Regions from separate parts of the Homo sapiens genome. Here region 2 is linked to region 1. The links are contacts of gene promoters, found by promoter capture Hi-C in human tissues and cell types (Jung and others, 2019). All regions are on one chromosome and are shown on one strand. The core of a region is centred on a gene start or on the middle of the fragment in contact, and the rest is flanking DNA. Distances in the headings are between cores, read along the strand shown.

The links. Contacts are between HindIII fragments. The study calls those that stand out against the background at their distance.
Region 2: a contact is called between a fragment that was not itself captured here and the fragment with the promoter of MRPL1 in region 1, in 2 of the 25 tissues and cell types used here (H1 embryonic stem cells and spleen).

Annotation. Positions count from the first base shown.
Region 1 is chr4:77,860,930-77,864,803 of GRCh38, reverse strand. It overlaps MRPL1 (mitochondrial ribosomal protein L1), which reads right to left and starts at 1,974. Exons shown (of 9, transcript NM_020236.4): 1 at 1,925-1,974. The coding sequence starts at 1,955. RefSeq lists enhancers at 1,427-1,526, 1,887-2,286 and a silencer at 3,771-3,874. The HindIII fragment of the contact is 8,859 bases long and covers 1-3,874 here.
Region 2 is chr4:78,569,241-78,573,177 of GRCh38, reverse strand. All of the region lies in intron 2 of ANXA3 (annexin A3), which reads right to left. Among named protein-coding and RNA genes, the nearest start is that of ANXA3, 19 kb to the right of the region's middle. The HindIII fragment of the contact is 5,917 bases long and covers 1-3,937 here.

The sequences.
Region 1 (3,874 bases), core at 725-3,224:
CCGTGGCTTCCAGTGCTTTAATGAACCTCCGATGTGGGGCCTTCTGGCAAAACATTTGCAATTTCATATTGTTGAAGCATTCATTGTATCCCTGGGGGTTTTCGCTATGTTCGCGGTGGCTGAGCCAAGAAAGAAGGCATGTGTCGACTCCTACAGAAATGATGATTCCATAAAAGATTTTGAGGAGATGAGGAAAACGTATATTTCAGAGCACAAAGTGATTTTGCAATATAAAGAATTTCTTTGGGTTGAATTACCTAAAAGTTTGTCACTGACCTGTGTTCTTGAACTATGAAATGTGAAAGTTTCTCCTGATAAGTAAACAATTAAAAAAATAAAAAAGATAGACAATAATCAAAGCCACAAACTTTGGATGAGCTAACCAAGGAGTGAATTTAGATACAGAAGAGATGAGAATGAAGGATGGAACCCTGGCTTCCAGAACACTCCAAAGTAAAGAGGCTGGGGAGAGGAAGAGGAACCAGCCAAGTAATGTGAGAAAAAATGACACATGAAATAGGAAGACAATTAACAGAGAGATATCCTAGAAGCCAAGAGAAGAAAATGTGACAAGAAAATTATAATATTCAGGTATTTTTGGTTTCTTTGGATTTGTGTAACATAACGATTTCTGTCATACATGAAGATGCCTTCAACCTCCTTTCAGAAATAATATACATTTTGGTTTGCTCACAAAGTAGGCATCAGGGTCTGTTGTTATCTCTTGTCACCCCTAATTTTTGAGCAATAACTCTCTTGACACAGTTTTCCTAAAAAGAAACTCAAAAAAAAAAAAAAAAAAACTGTGATGCAGTGTTAAATATACATGTATCACTGACCTAGGATTGCAAGCTTCAGTACTTCCTCTGCCATTTACTAGTTATATGAACTTGGCCACATATCTAATAAGTTCAGTTTCTTCCTCTGTAAAATGGGGGTAATGCTGGCTACTGCTTCTACCTAAAGACCTACCTAAATTAAACAATATATATCACTGGACTTCAAAAACACAAAATAAAAGCAAAAAGCGTTGCACAGGCCGGGCGCAGTGCCTCACGCCTGTAATCCCAGCACTTTGAGAGGCCGAGGAGGGCGGATCACCTGCGATTAGGAGTGCAAGACTAGCCTGGTCAACATGGTGAAACCCTGTCTCTACTACAAATACAAAAATTAGCCAGGCATGGTGGCACACGCCTGTAGTCTCTGCTACTCGGGAGGCCGAGGCAGGAGAATCGCTTGAACCTGGGAGACGGAGGTTGCAGTGAGCTGAGATCGCACCACAGCACTCCCAGCCTGGGTGGCAGAGCGAGACTGCCGTCTCAAAAAAAAAAAAAAAAAAAAATTGTTGCACAAGAAAGGGCTGTCATCGTAGACAAAAAGTTGAAATTATTAAGATGAAAAGAGGCGCTACCAAGAGGTACTACAGAATTAGCCCCCTCAAATGATAAACGTTGATCCAAATTAGACCACCTATGGAAGTTTAAGAACTGGAATCGCCTATAACGAAGTAATTCCGAAAGCACCAAAAAGCACTTTGAAAATTGCTCTAATTTACAGACTTAAGCCACTCAAATACATCATCTTTCCCTTATCAGAACTCACCTCACTTATCACACTCCACTACCCGCAGCCCACACCCCAGTATCAGAGACGACCCAGTCCTTGCCATGCCCATAGGTGGCTGGAGGGCGCTCGATGTACGTCCCGCTCCCACTCCCTCCCTCAGGGTGGACGTCTCCAGAATGGAGTGAAACCCTTCATAAGGTCACTTTTAAGTAGTAATGACCCACCCTCTGAAAAACCTAGAGACCAGAAACAGCACGAGGCATTTTCAGCACCCAGAGCAGAATCCGCCTTGCACTCTGCTGCAACCAGAGACTCGGTGCCAGAGCCATTTCCCCTGCAAGACAACCCCTCGCCTTACCTCTACCCATGCACCTTACGGCCGCCGCCATGTTGGGCACTCCGGATTGCGTTCACGAAATTGTTCCTACGTTTCTACTGGGAAGAATTAAAAAAAGGTTCCGTTCTAGAATCCGCAAAGAGGGAAGGAGTTAAAAAGAGAAAGAGGAACGGGGCGGGGACCAAAATGAGCTTTGCTGCCGGCGTGGCGGTGTTACTGTTAGTCCTCCGTGTTGCCCAGGACCCTGTGTGTTTCGTGGTTCCGGTATGGCTGGTTAACCACCTTCGGGAAAATACGATCCTGTTGGCGATGCTGTGATTATTTTAATCCTTCCTTCTTATTCTTTTTCTTTTTTGATCCTGCAAGTGTACTCAGAGCGACAATTTTAACAGGCTGTGAGAGTACTTAATACCCAACGTAAAATCTTGAAAAACAGGAACCCTGAAACCCACTAGCTTCCTCCGCCACTTTTCCGGCCTTGGAAAGACTTATTTTAAAAATTCTCTAGGCGTTTTCGCCGCTACCCGAGGGAGGTGTCCAACTCACTGACAAACTTTTTTTGCTAATTGTCAAACTTTCTGTCAGCGCAAGATCAACCTTAGCTTTAAAATCTTAAATTAATCTCTACATTTACCCCCTGCTGGCAAGCGAGTAGACTTACCATTAGGATCAATTGAATAATAATACTTGACATTTATAAAACATTTCTAGTTTTAAAATGGCAGCTCCAAGACCCACGCACAAGTTATTCTGATAGGAAAAAAAAACAAAAACAAAACAGAATGAGTGTACTTTCCATTACGTCACAGCTGTCGGTGTGGTTTATCTAAAACAAATCTGATTACGGATTTTATCACTTCCCAGCTTACCTCCCCCACAACACACACACACACACACACACACACACACACACACACACGTTTCTCACCTCCATAACTTGGTTCATTCTATCTTCTCTGCTTCGTGTGTACCGTACCCTACATCACCTAGGTAACTTTTTAAAGATTTCGCCTCAGGCTGTGTTTCTTTTAAACAGTTTTGAGATATAATTTACATAGCATACAATCTACCAATTTAAATTGTACAATTAAATGGTTTTTAGTGTACTCAAAGAGTTGTGCAGCCATCACCACAATATATCAGTTCTTGTCACCAGTCTGAGCTTTTTATGGGTAGAAACCATCTTACTCATTTTTGTAACCTCAGCACATACTTCAGTGCCAGGCCCATAGGAGGCTCTCAGTAAATGTTTGCTGAATAAATGAATATATGCATACATGAATTAGTGACTCAATTAGAATGGCAAGCCTGCAAAATTAACTTGCTTCAATGAAGCTGCCCACAGGCAGATGAACTGGATCAAAGGCATTTCCCAGATGCTTTATTCATATTTATACATAGTACTCATCTACATGAAAAAATAAGATTTCTAATGTATTGCCTTGTCTTGTTAACACCTAAGCAGTTACTTCAAAGATTCTATAACAATTTGTGACTTATGCAAAAAAATCGAAGAACTTAAATCTATCTTTGTAAACTTTTCCTTCTCTCCCTCGCTCCCTCTCATCCTCCCTTCTTTTCACAAATATATGAGTGCCTGCCATGTGTCAAGCAGTGTACTTGGCTATGCATAAATGAAAAAAACTAATTCAATTTGAGAGTAAGTACCAGAATTGGAGCAAGTTTACCCAGTCAATTTCAGAGAAAAACAAACACTCAGATTAGAGGTGCTGGTCCTTAGACCCTATATCTGTTTCCTTTCCACAGTCCACAGCTGGGGTCAGTTGGCCCCCATCTGTGGACTTTTTTTTCCCCCTCTCAAGACAGGATCTCACTCTGACACCCAAGCTGGAGTGCAGTGACAAGATCATAGCTCATTGCAGCCTTCACCTGCTGGGCTCAAGTGATCCTCATGTCTCAGCCTCCCAAGGGGCTGGGACTACAGGCACACACCACCACACCTGGCTAACT
Region 2 (3,937 bases), core at 95-2,594, 710 kb before region 1:
AGAAGGAAATACTTGAAAGTCCCATTGGTTCAAAATGACATCTTTCTTGTATTACATATGCATATTCCTTCATGCATATGAGAGGCATATGACAAACCCATAATTCGCACACCTTCCTACCACTTCAGGAGTGGCTCTGAAATTGCCTTTGGAAAATTATGACAGTAAGAGAAATCTGACATGGTTGACTCCATCTTGCTTCTAGCCTCACAGGCTGGCTGTCTTTGCTCATTCCTGGGTGTGGGGCAAACTAACTTCAGGAGGAATTTAGTTTATAGTTTAAATGATACTAGCTCTTCCCAAAAGCTAAACTACCCTTGTAAAATTAATGGAAGTCTACCAAGTTAGGAGGATGAGAGGGGCCTGAATTTTACTAAGATGCAGGCATAGTTACATAATTACCTGCCATTATTCTGGAGGTCACAATATTTGCAACCTCCCCAATTACTCTTGCAGATAGCATCACTATTATAGAACCTACAGTTGGCCTTTTGAGAAGTCTTTTAGGCTTTTGCATTTCTGACTACTGGACAGCCCCACCCAGACCAGCAACTCCTTTGGTGGCCCCCACTTAGAAGCAGACTCAGCCTACAAGGACTGTTTTCTATACCCCTATAATTACATCTCCAACCAATCAGCATGCCCCTTCCCTAGCCCCCTGCCCTCCATTTTAACCTTGAAAAACCCCTAACTTTTGAGCCTTCAGGGAAATTGATTTGAGTAATAACTCTGTCTCCCACATGGTGTGGCTAGCCTGGCATCAATTAAACTTTTTCTTTACTGCAATGTGATGGTCTCAGTGGACTGATTTTGTCTGCACAGTGAGCAGGAAGAACCCATCTGGCAGTTACAGTTGAAGTGATGGTCTACCCCCCAGACACAGGGAATATGATATCTACCCCATATCTCAGGAGTCCTCTTTTTCTTTTGTGTAACAAATTACAAATATAAAACATTGGTTCTCTAGAGCAGTAAGTTGTGTTAATCTTGGTGACACTGAAGAAAATTTGTTTTAAAGTAGCATTTGCAGGAGAGCAACAAGAAAGCTGAAATTTCCTAAATCTTCTTATTTTTCAAGTGATAATTCAAAGCTCATCATGGCATCTCGCACAGAAGTAACTGTGGTTTACAGACTTCAAGATGTTTTAATTAATGTTGACCATTGTCCTTGGGGAATCCCAGACTAAATGATCCATAAATGAAAACCCCCTTAGGACTGTCTGTTCTTAAGCTTTGTTTAATGAATGTGCAATTAGAAGACCTTCTAAAAGCTCTACTGACATCATAGATCTTCAGGAATTGCAAGGAAGTAAAAAATGCCACACTACTAATTTTAAGCATGTAAATTAGAAGCATGTCAGTAAGCTGGGAAAGACCATAATATAGAAAAAATATTTTAAAATTGCTTATGAGACTAAAGAAGGACAGCCACAAAGATGTTGAGAAAAATCAAAGTAAACGTAGATTTATGTGGTAGTTCCTAACTTCTTGAATAAAAATCTGTCTTTACAGTAATAATATTTCCTTTTAAACAGCATTTTTCTATCCTGTTACTGAATAGTATTGGCTCTGTTGTCTTGTATTAATATGGGTTCATTTTGGCTCTCTTGAAGGGTTTAATATTTTCATGAAAGGACATTATCTGTCACATTAAAGTGAATGGAAAATTAGTGTTCTGGCACAGTAAAATATGATAGTCTGCTGATTCATTAGATTAGACTGAATAATTGATTTCAATACACTCAAACACTGTTTAATCTTATAGCATCTAAAATAAGAACTTTAGAACCTAGAAAATAATTGCAAGTTAGAAACTAGTTGTGAATGTTCCTGACCTGAAGATACCTGTAACAAACCAGTCACTTTAGTCTGGACATGGTGGCTCACTCTTGTACTCCCAGGTCTTTCGGGGGCCAAAGACAGAGGATCATTTGAGCCCAGGAGTTCAGGGCCAGCCTGGGCAACACAGTAAGACCCTGTCTCTACAAAATATTAAAAAATTACCAGGTGTGGTGGTGTGCAGGTGTGGTCCCAGCTACTTGGGAGGCTGAGGTGGGAGGACCACTTGAGCGCAGAAGGTCAAGGCTGCAGTGAGCTGTGATTGTGTCACTGCACTGTAGTCTAGGTGACAGAGTGAGACCGTGTCTCACAAAAAAAAAGAAAGAAAGAAAGAAAGAAAATAAATTAGTCACTTTAATATAATTTTTGATGAATTCTCTTTCTCCAAGGCTTGATAAATATTTTATGGATTCACAGAGCCAACTGGCTTCATTTCACTTCTATCCATCTAGGAACTTTTGTGTTGATCTTACCTGTCCACCTTCCAGTGTCTGGCATTGTAAAAGAACTACCCCAATGTTAGATTGTTTGAATGCTTCATGCCCAGCACACTTTACATGCTAAGCACTTTATATATGTTAATTATAATCTGCATAACAGCCCCAATAAATGAGAGTGAGCAATTTCACATAAACAGCACCAAGATTTAAGAAGACCAGAGAATTTGATCAAGTCTACACAGCTAGTTGCAGGCAGAGGCTGAATTTAAAAGCAAACTAGACTATTCCAGACCATTCCTGGTGTTTCATGAAGTGCAGTCTCTGTACCACCTGGAGTGATACTTTAAATGTATATGACCAGGACACACCTTCTATATACTGAATCATATGTTTTAGAGATGGGGTGCTAAATTCTACATGTGTAAGAAGCTCCCAGGTGATTCTGTGCCATGCAGATATTGACGTGGCTGATTCTAAATATAAAAAGACAAAATTGTGGTCAGATCCCAGTTGTTCATGCATCATGAAAACTCAGGGTTTGCACTCCAGCTGTGAACTTTTCACTGGCCTTTACCACCTACACATCAAAATATGCTAAAATGCCAATGCACAGAATTAGAGAAGGAGGAAATTCCCAATTTATTATGCAATTTAGTACTTAGCAAGAATTAAATGGGGGAGGAATAACTTGTTTAATTACAAGGGGGGAAGAAAGTACGCACACACACACCCCAACTTGAAAAAGGGCTTGGGAATTCTGAAGTGGAATTTTAGTGAAATATTTAAAACTGCTTCCATTATTTAAACGAATGGCATTATTCATTTGATAGACTTGGTTGCCCAAATCATTCGGAAATATTACATGACTTACAAAATAATCTTACAATCAAAGATTAATGAAATCTTTTAAAACTAATACATGAACAAAGTGATTTACAAACATTTAACTCTTACAAGAGCCTTCATGAGGTGAATTTTATTATTTCTAATTGAAAATGGAAGAAACCCAGTCTCACAGAGATTATTTGCTTAAAAGAGCTCTGCTAATAAGGACAGCCCCAGGACTCAAACCCATCACCTTATGACTAAAATGCCCCCTGCTCTATGTCACATCACAATGCCTCGAGGGAGTTCATCTTAGTGGTTCTCAAAGTGTGGTTCCTGAAGCAGCTGCATCAGCATCACCCGGGAATGTGACAGAAATGCAAATTCTCAGGCCCAACCCCAGTGTTCCTGAACCAACAACTGCAGGGCCAGGATGCAGAATCTGCGATTTAACAAACCTTCCAGGTGATTCTAGTACACAATAAAGTTTAAGAAGCACTGCTTTATTTCCTTCTTAGCTGTCTAGAAAACCAAAGCAAAAATGAGCAAACAAGCCATGAATTCTCTTATGGGTGTGGAAGATGAAGAATTTAATGATGAGCTCATCGCTTCAGGAATGTCGGCATTTTTACAGCCAAACAGGACTGCTTGCATTGCCTGCTCCACTGCAAGCTTAATTCCTTGACATTTATATTACTAATCAATACTTGGCTGAGTTTATTTCCAGTAACCCTAGTGTCCTAACATAGTCAGTGCTAGCGTAGAACATCACCTGAATACTTGGCAAAGTCTATTTAAAAAAAAAAAAATTGCCTTTGATCAGATTTCCATCC